Regions from separate parts of the Homo sapiens genome. Here region 1 is linked to region 2. Evidence: promoter capture Hi-C in human tissues and cell types (Jung and others, 2019). All regions are on one chromosome and are shown on one strand. Each heading gives the region's core, a stretch centred on a gene start or on the middle of the fragment in contact. The rest is flanking DNA. Distances are from core to core; before and after follow the strand shown. Region 1 overlaps ZNF66 (zinc finger protein 66). Region 2 holds the start of ZNF737 (zinc finger protein 737).

What was found. The method cuts DNA at HindIII sites, captures the fragments that hold promoters and counts their contacts. A contact is called where the count stands out against the background at its distance.
Region 1: a fragment that was not itself captured here is called in contact with the fragment with the promoter of ZNF737 in region 2 in 1 of the 25 tissues and cell types used here (thymus).

The regions. Positions count from the first base shown.
Region 1 is chr19:20,791,872-20,797,271 of GRCh38, forward strand. It overlaps ZNF66 (zinc finger protein 66), which reads left to right. Exons shown (of 4, transcript NM_001355197.2): 2 at 641-767; 3 at 1,912-2,007. Among named protein-coding and RNA genes, the nearest start is that of ZNF66, 18 kb to the left of the region's middle. The HindIII fragment of the contact is 8,007 bases long and covers 1-5,400 here.
Region 2 is chr19:20,563,379-20,569,166 of GRCh38, forward strand. It overlaps ZNF737 (zinc finger protein 737), which reads right to left and starts at 2,403. Exons shown (of 4, transcript NM_001159293.2): 1 at 2,260-2,403. The coding sequence starts at 2,262. The region is part of intron 2 of LOC105372316 (a long non-coding RNA gene); the gene reads left to right. RefSeq lists enhancers at 1,836-1,995, 2,206-2,255. The HindIII fragment of the contact is 4,540 bases long and covers 1-4,246 here.

The DNA.
Region 1 (5,400 bases), core at 1,042-3,541, 230 kb after region 2:
TAAGTTTCATTATGCAGCTGATGTGAACAAACAATCATTTAATCTGGCAGCTGTTCTTTTTTCTTTTTTTCTACATATTTTTCTTTGGAAAATTAAGGCTCTTATCTTTGTTTACAGGCCAGAAAAACTGGAAAAAACACAGGCTCTTCCACTTACTGGATGTTTGACAAAATATTCTTCTTGGGCCAAAAACATTGACATTATTGGTTAGCTTGCTAGAAATTCAAAAAATCAGACTTTATTCCAGATCTTCTGGAAAAAAACCCTGCATAACAAGGTCTTCAGCTTATTGTACATATTAAAACATGCCTTTTTCATCTGAAAAATATTCACAACTCATTCCATATGATGTAAATATAGCACTCAAAAATGTACATGTTTGTGTTCATGCCCTTAATTTTATAGTTTATTTTCTAGAAAAATATATGAACTGATGTTGTGGATCTTATGTTCCTTTATTTTCTCAGAGTTAGAGAATACTTTAGAGAATATTTCTGTGTTGAAAATTATTTTATAGGATAACTTTAGTCAGTCCTATAAGTCAGAACCAGTTATCTTTACTCTCTCATTTCACCTTAAGTCAAATTAAAAATTCCGCCCATAACCACTTGGTGAAAATGTGTGTGTGTATATTTTTCAGGGGCCATTGCAATTTAGAGATGTGGCCATAGAATTCTCTCTGGAGGAGTGGCATTGCCTGGACATGGCACAGCGGAATTTATATAGGGATGTGATGTTAGAGAACTACAGAAACCTGGTCTTTCTTGGTGAGAAAAACTTTAATACATAACTCATAATATACACAAATTGTTTTATTTCTCTTTTTTGTAGAATGTTAGTAATTTATTCTTTTTATAAAAGAGTTTCAGATCCAGTTTTTCAAGAAAATCTTCAGAATTTGTTCATTTAGAAAAGAATTACTTTGGTGCCTCATGCCTGTAATCCCAGCACTTTGGGAGGCTGAGGCAGGGGGATTACCTGAGGCCAGGAGTTTGAGACCAGCTGGCCAAAATGCTGAAACCCCAACTCTAATAAAAGTACAAAAAATTAGCTGCGGGCTGTGGCATGCACCTATAATCCCAGGACTCAGGAGGGTGAGGCAGGAGAATCACTTGAACTCAGGAGGTGAAGGTTGCAGTGAGTTGAGATCATGACATTGCACTGCAGCCTGGGCAACAGAGCAAGATTCTGTCTCAAGGAAGAAAAAAAAAAAAGAAAGAAAAAAATTTCTTCAAGATATTTCATCTTAATACAAACTTTCCACATTTCTGAGGTGAGTTATATTCTTCACTCTAAATTAGTGGTAATTCCAGAAATTTACTGACTTAAAATATTGTAGCTTCCACCTGAAAATCTACTTGCCACCACCAAGTTTTGATTCAGTAGTACCAGGTAGTAAAATTAGGAAACCTACAAATTGAAAGTATTTTCTTTTCTTTTCTTTTCTTTTCTTTTCTTTTCTTTTTTTTTTTTTTTTGAGACAGAGTCTCACTCTGTTCCCCAGGCTGGAGTGCAGTGGTGCAATCTGGGCTTACTGCAACATCCACCTCCCAAGTTTCTCCTGCCTCAGCCTCCCGAGTATGTGGGACTACAGGCACACATCACTATGCTCCGCTAATTTTTGTATTTTCAGTAGAGATGGGGTTTCACCATGCTGGCCAGGCTGGTCTCAAACTCCTGACCTTAGGATCTGCCTGCCTCGGCCTCCCAAGGTGCTGAGATTACAGGCATGAGCCACTGCACCAGGCAAATTGGAAGTATTTTCTAAATATTTAGAAATCTCTGTTACAAATTTGTATTTTGTTATTAATTTACTAGAATATTTTATCACATCATCTTTCCTGAGCACATTACTAGCTTGTAATTGGAGAATGTGAGCAAGATTCATGTTATTTATTTTTGATAAAACAGGTATTGTTGTCTCAAAGCCAGACCTCATCACCCATCTGGAGCAAGGAAAAAAACCTTCGACTATGCAGAGACATGAGATGGTAGCCAACCCCTCAGGTAGGTGTGAGTGAAAATGAATACAACAGACAACACAGTAAGAAGTCCAAGGTCAAAAAGAAAGCCAGTCCTTAAGGTGTGATTCTGGAAGCTGTGTTCCAAAGGAACTTCTGGGCAGCTGTTTTTTTTGTTTTTTGTTTTTGTTTTTGTTGTTTTAAATTTTGCTGTCACAAAGGGGCATATTGTCTTATGCTTCTAAATTCTCTAAAAATTCTACTTTTCTCTCAGTGAGCTTCCTTCACATTCACAGTGAGAGCCAAAGTCCTCTTCATGACATATAAGAGACAGCACAATCCAGCTGCTTTTTCATTGTTTTGGGGACACACAAATATCTTCCTAATTTTGAGAAACTGAAACTATTTTTTAGTTTTCTTTTTGTATCCGGTCTGAAATTTGTGAGAGTAGTAGTTTCTGTTGCATTTTTTTTTGTTCATTTTTGTGCACAGTCCATTCTATTTTTATTACTATATAGTCTTGAAATATAGTTTGAAATTGTAAGTACGATATTCTGTTTTCTTCTTTTTCCTCAAGATTGCTTTGGCTATTCAAAGTTTATTTTAGTTTCATGTAAATTTTAGAATTGTATTTTCCATTATTGTAAAAAAAAACACTGCAATTTTAATAGGAAGATTATTGAGTCTGTAAATCACTTTGGATAATATGATTCTTTAATAATATTTATTCTTTTAATTCATTGACATAAAATATTTTAAAATTAATTTTTATCTTCTAATTTTTTTATTTTGTTATTGTAAACTTTTTTTTACCTCCTTGGTTAATTTTTTTCTCAGGAATTTATTTAATGCTATATTAAATAAGATTTTTTCTTCCTCATCAGATAGTTTGTTTTAAGTGTAAGAAACCATACATATACTTGTGTGTTTAATTTTATATTTTGCTAATTTACTGAGTGTATTTATTAGTTTAGACAGGTTTTAATGTACTGTTTATGGTTTTTTAAATATAAAATTGTGTGATTTACAACCAGCAACTTTTTTTTTTTTTTTTTTGAGAGGGGCTTTCACTCTTTTTGCCCAGGCTAAAGTGCAATGGTGTGATTTTGACTCACTGCAACCTTTGCCTCCTGGGCTCAAGTGGCTCTCCTGCCTCAGCCTCCTGAGTAGCTGGGATTACAGGTGTTCACCACAACACCCAGCTACTTTTTTGTATTTTTTTGGTAGAGACGGTGTTTCACCATGTTGGCAAGGCTGGTCTCAAACTCCTGACCTCAGATGATCTGCCCGCCTCTGCCTCCCAAAATGTTGGGATTACAGCCATGAGCCACCATGCCTGGCTGGATTTTTTTATTTCTGTGAATAATTCTTCTGCCACATACTTCCATCACTACATTCAAATAGAAGCATTGACAATGGACACAATATAGTTTTGTATTGGTGTCTGAATTTGATGGAGTAAACACCTCTTCAAGTTTTCATAAACTGATTTTAGAAGCATTTCCTTAGGGAACTGTGTGGGTTTCTTTTTTTCTTTTTCTTTTTTTTTTTTGAGATGGAGTTTTGCTCCTGTTGCCCAAGATGGAGTGCAATGGTGCGATCTCATCTCACCACAACCTCCGCCTCTTGGGTTCCAGTGATTCTCCTGCCTCAGCCTCCCAAGTAGCTGCAAATACAGGCATGCGCCACCATGCCTGGGTAATTTTGTATTTTTAGTAGAGAAGGTGTTTCTCCATGTTGGTCAGGCTGGTCTTGAACTCCTGACCTCAGGCGATCCGCCCGCCTCAGCCTCCCAAATTGCTGGAATTACAGGTGTGAGGCACTGTACCCTGCCCAATTGTGTGGGTTTCTATGTAGGCAGAACTGACCATAAACTTGGCTCAGGTAACTGAAACTGAGTCATAGAACCGCTTCAGGGATCCCAGTAAAGTCCAAAGTCTGCAGGCCTGCCTACATTGTTGTAAATGGGTGCCTTCCTCCAGGTCTCTTGAATGTCAGGACCTCTGCCAGACTCTGACTGGGAGGAGTTTGGATTGGTTACAGAGTAAGTTCAGAATTCTCAGTGGGACCAAGTTGGGTGAACCCTATCTGGTCTGTAGCCATGAGTAGGGGTCCTGCAGTTTCCCACCTGACTAAGGGCAGGTTCTCTTCTGAATAGAACACTTCTCAATCTTAAGCTTTAGCAGCATTTCACAACTCCCTCCCTGGATCTCAAATCTCTCTTAGTGGCGTGTATTTTGGAGATGGGGTCTTGCTACATAACCCAGGCTGGTCTCAAAATCCTGGCCTGAAGCAGTTCTCCAACGTTAATGTACCATGTATCTGTCATTACAGGTGTGAGCCATAATGCCTATTTCTCTCATAAAGGCATTTTTGTCAGAGATGGCTGACTTTTTTTTTTGCTGTAAGGGAGTATGAAAATAGGGACTTTTAATCTTTTCATCTTACTGATGTCACTCTCCCTATACATTTTTACTTTCTATTTTCTCTTTCAGATTTGTCTGTAAATTTAGATTCAGATATTTAGGACAATGTGCTAGAATTTGCATGGTATGCCTGAAGTAAATTAGATAACTCATAGGGACCCATATTACTAAAATAGTTACTTATGAATTTAAGTTTGCTGCAGGCAAAAAGGAATTAAAGGATTTTCATCTTTTTTTTAGCCTATATCTAAATAATAACATAGTTTATTTCTCAATATTTGTTTTACATATCAGAGGGTCTAACCCTATTCTGCAAATTGTATAATTTTAAATTTAACAATGTAAGGCTACTCTTTGCTTCTAAAGTTTGATTATAGCTGTTTTATTTTGTGTAAAAATACCATATATTTAAAACATTAAAAGTAACTAGTTTCCTTAAAATGCTAATTTTTAAGTTTCTCATTAGAATCTTCTATTTATAATTATACTGCATATTCTCTGAAATTTTACTGCCACACAGGGCATGCCAATGATTCAAAATACCTGCATTTAGTGAGTACACACTAACAGTTAAATATTTCAGTTACCTAGAAACATTTTTATTTTTTTTGAGATGGAGTCACACTCTGTCACCCAGCCTGCGGTGCAGTGGTGTGATCGTGGCTCACTGCAACTTCCACCTTCCAGGTTCAAGCAATTCTCATGCCTCAGTCTCTCAAGTAGCTGGGGTTACAGGCATGTGTCACCACCCCTGGCAAATTTTTGTATTTTTAGTAGAGACAGGGCTTCACCAAGTTCGCCAGGCTGGTCTTGAACTTATGACCTCAGGTGAGCTGCTTGCCTTGGCCTTCCAAAGTGTTGAGATAACAGTTGTGAGCCACCACACCCGGCCTGACAATTTTTTAATAATGCATCAATGTTGCATGCTAGATTTTTTTTTTTTTTTTTTTTTTTTTTTTTTTTTTTTGAGACGGAGTCTCGCTGTCGCCCAGGCTGGAGTGCAGTGGCGCAAT
Region 2 (5,788 bases), core at 1,153-3,652:
GCTTTGATTTCCATGTCAGAGTTATTCACTTGGTTTTTGAAACTAAGTGTTAGAAAAATCCAGGGAAATTACTCAAACACAGTGTTTACATAAGAAGGAAGTGCTTACTTTTTTTTTTTTTTTTTTTGAGACGGAGTCACCCTGTGGCCCAGGCTGGAGTTCAATGGCATGATCTTGGCTCACTGCAACCTCTGCCTCCCCGGTTCAAGACCTTCTTGTGCCTCAGCCTCCCATGTTGTTGGGAATACAGGCGTATGCCACCACACCCGGCTAATTTTTGTATTTTTAGTAGAGATGGGGTTTCATCATGTTGGGCAGGCTGGTCTCAAACTCCTGACCTCAAGTGATCCACTCACCTCGGCCTCCCAAAGTGCTGAGATGACAGGCGTGAGCCACTGCACCTGGCTAAGGTGCTTGCATGTGATACCTCCATAAGAAAAGTAAATATATCTACTTCTTTCAGAAAATATATGTATTATTTTATTATTTATCTTAAAAATAAGTAGGCCTGGTGCGGCAAATCATGCTTGTAATCCCAGCACTTTGGAGGGCCGAGGCAGGTAGATCACGATGTCAGAAGATCACGACCATTTTGGCCAACATGTTGAAACCCCCTCTCTACTTAAAATACAAAAGAATTAGCTGGGTGTGGTGGCACGTGCCTGTAATCCCAGCTACTCAGGAGGCTGAGGCAGGAGAATTGCTTGAACCCAGGAGGTGGAGGCTGCAGTAAGCCGAGATCACGCCACTGCACTCCAACCTGTTGACAGAGCGAGACTCTGTTTCAAAAAAAAAGTAAATAAATAAAATAATGTAGTAAAAAATTAGTCATATGGGAACACTTCTAGAAGGTACCATGTTTCATCACATATAATTTAGCATTTAACTCAGAACTCAACAGGATATAGAACTGAGATATTCACTGTCACAAATTTCCCCTGCAAAAAGAGGAACTAATGTGTTGACGAATCTATGTAACTCATCAATTATCTACCACATTTTCCTGTGGAAATATATTCATTGTCTACAGCCAAAATGGAAGAGAGATTTTCCCTATTTTTTTCCTTGGTAACTAGCATTCCTGGCTAACATACTGAAACTCCATCTCTACTAAAAATACAAAAATTAGCTGGGCGTGGTGTCGCGTGCCCATAGCCCCAACTACTCCAGAGGCTGAAGCAGAAGAATGCTTGAACCTGAGAGGCGGAGGTTGCAGTGAGCCGAGATCTGACACTGCACTCCAGCTCTGGCGACAGAGCGAGACTCCGTCTCAAAAAAAAAAAAATAAAAATAATAAATTGAGGAACATGGGGTACACTTGAGGCCTTGCTTGAGACACATGTGGAAAATGCCAGGGAAAATCAGTCCGCTGTGGCGTGTGAAAATAATTAAGTGGCAGGCAATTAGACTGAAGAAGCTCTAGTCCCTGGATTTCTACCTCAAAAAAAAAAAAATCTAAGCTCATGTGCATTTTTTGGGAAATTACTACATTAGGGGAAACAAAATTCAGGCTTAAGCAACTATAAACTGCCAATTAAACTGTAATTACATAACCAGGAATTTTTTTTTTTTTTTTGAGACGGAGTCTCACTGTCGCGCAGGCTGGAGTGCAGTGGCAAGATCTCAGCTCACTGCAACATCCACCTCCGGAGTTCAAGCGATTCTCTCACTTCTGCCTCCCGAGAAGCTGTGATTACAGACATCTGTCATCACACCCAGCTAATTTTTGCATTTTTAGTAGACATGGGGTTTCCCCATTTGGGCCAGGCTTATCTTGAAGTCCTGACCTCAAGTTATCCGCCTGCCTCGGCCTCCCAAAGTGCTGGGATTACAGGCGTGAACGACTGCGCCCGGCCCCATAAATTTTGAATAGCAGAAAACAGAAACTGTGAACTCCACGGACCAAAGCTCTTCCCATTCATGAACCTGCACCCCGAGTCAGGATTCTCCCCTGACGACCCTCTGGTGGTCCCTGCACATTCTGGGAGAGACGGGAGGCTGCGGTTGCAGAGCTGCCCACGGAGCGCTCCAGGCCAGAGCAGTCACTACGCAGGGAAGACACAGGACGCCAGGGGGCCCGGCTGTCAGCGTAGCCGCCAAATTATGGCTGAACGGGACTGAGGCCGAGCTGGGCAAGGAGAACTCAGGGTGCAGATTGTGGAGCTGACTGCGCAGAGGCCTGAGTCCCGCCACAGCCACTTCCCACCGGTTCCAACCAGCCTATCCCCCTCTCTCGGGATGTCGGACCGGCACTCTCACCATTTCTAGGCTTCCAGGGGCTCCCGGGCGTCTTAGCTGTGGATCTCCCAATACCTGCAGGACACAGGGCCACAGAGGCTGGGCCTCTAGGAGCAGAGGACACACAGCAGTGAAGACAAGACCTGGAGCTCCGGCTGCAGAGACAAAGGCCCCGCAAAACCCGGAAGCCTTCCGCTTCACTCTGGCTGCGTGCCTGATTGGACGGCTTCCAGCCCAGCGTCCCTGATTGGATAATGCTTAAATCCCCGCCCCCTCAGGCCCTGAGTGACAGAAGATATGATCAGATGCTGGGTTAAGTGAACAAAGAGTGCCAGCCTAAGCAGCTGGCTTTTCAAACAGTGCTTCCTCCCTGAGCTGAGCCAGGCCCACCCCAGAGCATGGGAATATTTTATCTCTTGTTTACTCTCTTTCTTGTTGAATGTATTAAAAAGGTGAACAGAAGTATTTTGCTGTCATTAATAATACATAAAATTTTTGTTCAACAGAAAATCAACTTTTACTTTGGTAATGGTAAAATCTATTAAAGCTAATTTTAATAAAACCTTATAAATAAATCAAATTTGTCATTTTTGAGCACTCCAGATTTACATATATATTTTGTAATATCTCGTAATTTTAAAAAACTATTTATATTTTATTTTTGTCCACATTCTTTTTATTTTTTCAATTTGAAACAATCTTTAATTTCCAACAGCTATAGGAGATAGAAATCATTTAGAGGCAGGCACGGATAGTTCACGCTGGTAATTCCAACACTTTGGGAGGCCAAGGTGAGCAGATCACTTGAGGTCAGGAGTTCAAGACAAGCCTAGCCAACATGGTGAAACCCCATCTCTAATAATAACTAATAAATAATAATAATAACTAATAATATAAAAAGTTACCTGGGTGTGGGGGTGCACATCTGTAGTCCCAGCTACACCGGAGGCTGAGGCAGGAGAATCACTTGAAGCCAGGAGGCGGAGGTTGTGTAACAGCCCAAGGGGTTTATTTTACCCTTTGCCTAGACAGAGCCGATTCATCAAGACAGGGGAATTTGTGGAGGAAAAGTCACATATTAAATCTGAACTCAATTGAATGTGGACACAAACAATTGTCACCAAGTCCCAGAACAGGTTGTGTGAGCCCCTGAGGTGTTCATCCAGCGCTGTATTGAAGAAATCTCTATTTCAATCTATTCCTATATATTAGTTGTTGAAAAACAATAGACAATCACAAAAAAAGGTTGACCTTTTTGTGTTCCTTGAGGCAAGTCGTGAAGGGCTCTCATCACTGGGCCTTATGCCAAACAACTCGTTACAAAAGAGCTAAGGTCCCAGACCGCCCTGAAGCTTCATAAGACCTCTCCTTGTCTGTGTACGATGGACGGGTGGCTGACTCTAGAGCTGTGGCTGTTGCCTCCCTCTCTGGTGGTGAATCCCCCATAGTCTGGTGAGGGAAAATATATATATATATATATATATATATATATATATATCTTTTCCCATTTCCTCGTCTTATTAAGATTGGCTTATTACATCAATCTGCTTATTATATTTATTTGCTTATTATATCATTTGCTTATTATATTATTACTTTATTATGTCTGCATTGCCATTTACGTGGGATAAAAGTTGTTTACCCTTAATGGTATTGTGTGTGTGTCTTTGTTTCTCCCCTCTCACATTTGCCTCACAGAACATTTTTGGCATCACAAATAGGATTTGAAAACAAAAGTGTACCCCTTTTTGACTAGAAGGACAGGGCTGGAGGGCTCAGGGACTTCCCATATCCTGGGATGGGAACTCCCCCAGTTCTCCCTCTTGGTGATTAAATGGTCAAGGGGAACTGGTTTTTGTGGGAATTGGGAATCTAAATTAGTGCAGTTTAAACCTTTGACTGTGCGGGAAGTGCTGCGGGGGATTCCAGTCAGCAAAGGAGATGCTGAGGGATCTCCCGGAGTGGATGGTGTTTGCTTACTGCTTATAAGTTAATGTATCGTGATAGGGGCTGGTTGCTACAAGATAAATGTAAGCGGAAAAGGAAAATGCTAATCTGACTTCCAGACTGGCCCAATGCCAGTCAATGTCTTGACTGATAAAGCTCAAAGCTATCAGCCTATCGCTGAAAAAAGCAGCTGTCCAGGTGGCCCAGTCAGGATAAAACTGAAGAACTAGTCAGCCGGGGCTTCGAGCAGGTAAAAACCCAGTTCCTATTTCAAAAATGGGAAATTAACCCTAGTAAAATTCAAGGACCTGCACAAAGTATAAAATTCCTTGGCATTTTATGGAATGCAAATAAATAGTCCATTTTACCAAAGGCTAAGGCTAAAATACTAGATTTTGCAACCCCTACCACTAATGTACTGGCTTGTTTGGTTTCTGGAGACATCATATTCCCCACTTGGGTAACATTTTACAACCTCTGCATGCAGCCACTAGAAAACGCTATGACTTTCACTGGGGAGAGAAAGAGAGCATGGCCTTTGAACAAGCTAAACAAGCAGTGCAACTGGCCCTGGATCTATGGCCCATACGGGATGGGCCAGTAGAACTGCAAGTAACTGTCCTAGATCAATATGCTAATTGGAGCCTTGGGCAGAAACAAGATGGGAAGAGGGTACTTTTCGGGATTTGGACCCAGAAACCACCAGAGGGAGGAAAAGCTTATACCTCTTTCAAGAAGCAACTGTTAGCTTGCTATTGAGCTTTGCTGGAAATAGAACACCTATGCTTCAACCATGATGTTTTTATGAGACCTGAAATTCCTATTATGACTTGAGACATGAGTTCCCCCAAAACCCACCAGATAGGGCACACCCAAGAAAGTAGCATCATATAATGGAAATGGCACATACAAAACCAGCCTAAGCCAAAACCAAAGAGGGTATCACTTTCACATGAGGATGGACAAAACTTGCCAGCTCAGGAAACACTGAACGAGTCCTGCAGATAGAGAGGTAAACACCCCCCTCCCCAACCGCCCATCAAATGGGATCAGAAACATACTTGGTTTACTGATGGACCCACCAAATACATTGGTGGGACCCAATGCTGGAAGGCTGTGGCTTATAATCCTCTTAAATACATAAGCATTTCTGATGAAGGAAGGAGTGGGAGCATTCAGTTAGCTGAACTGGCAGCCATCCTCTGAGCTATTCAGGAGGAGACCAGAGGGATTTGTCACTTGTATACGAACTCTTGCTCAGTAGCAAATGGTCTTACCACATGGATGCCCCAGTGGCAATGAAACAAATGGCTAATTGGGAATAAAGAGGTTTGGCGAGAACAATGCTGGTAAGGTATCTGAATCCTGGTGCACAACACATACCACTGTGTTCCATATTGTTTGTTGTTGTTGTTGGTTTTTTCCTAGCCCTGTCACCAAACTGAAGTGCAGTGGTGCAATCTCAGCTCACTACAACCTCTACCGCCCGAGTTCATGCCATTCTCCTGCCTCAGCCTACCAAGTAGCTGGGATTACAGGCACGGGCTGCCACGCCCAGCTAATTTTTTTTTTTTTTTAGACTCAGTCTCACTCTGTCGCTAGA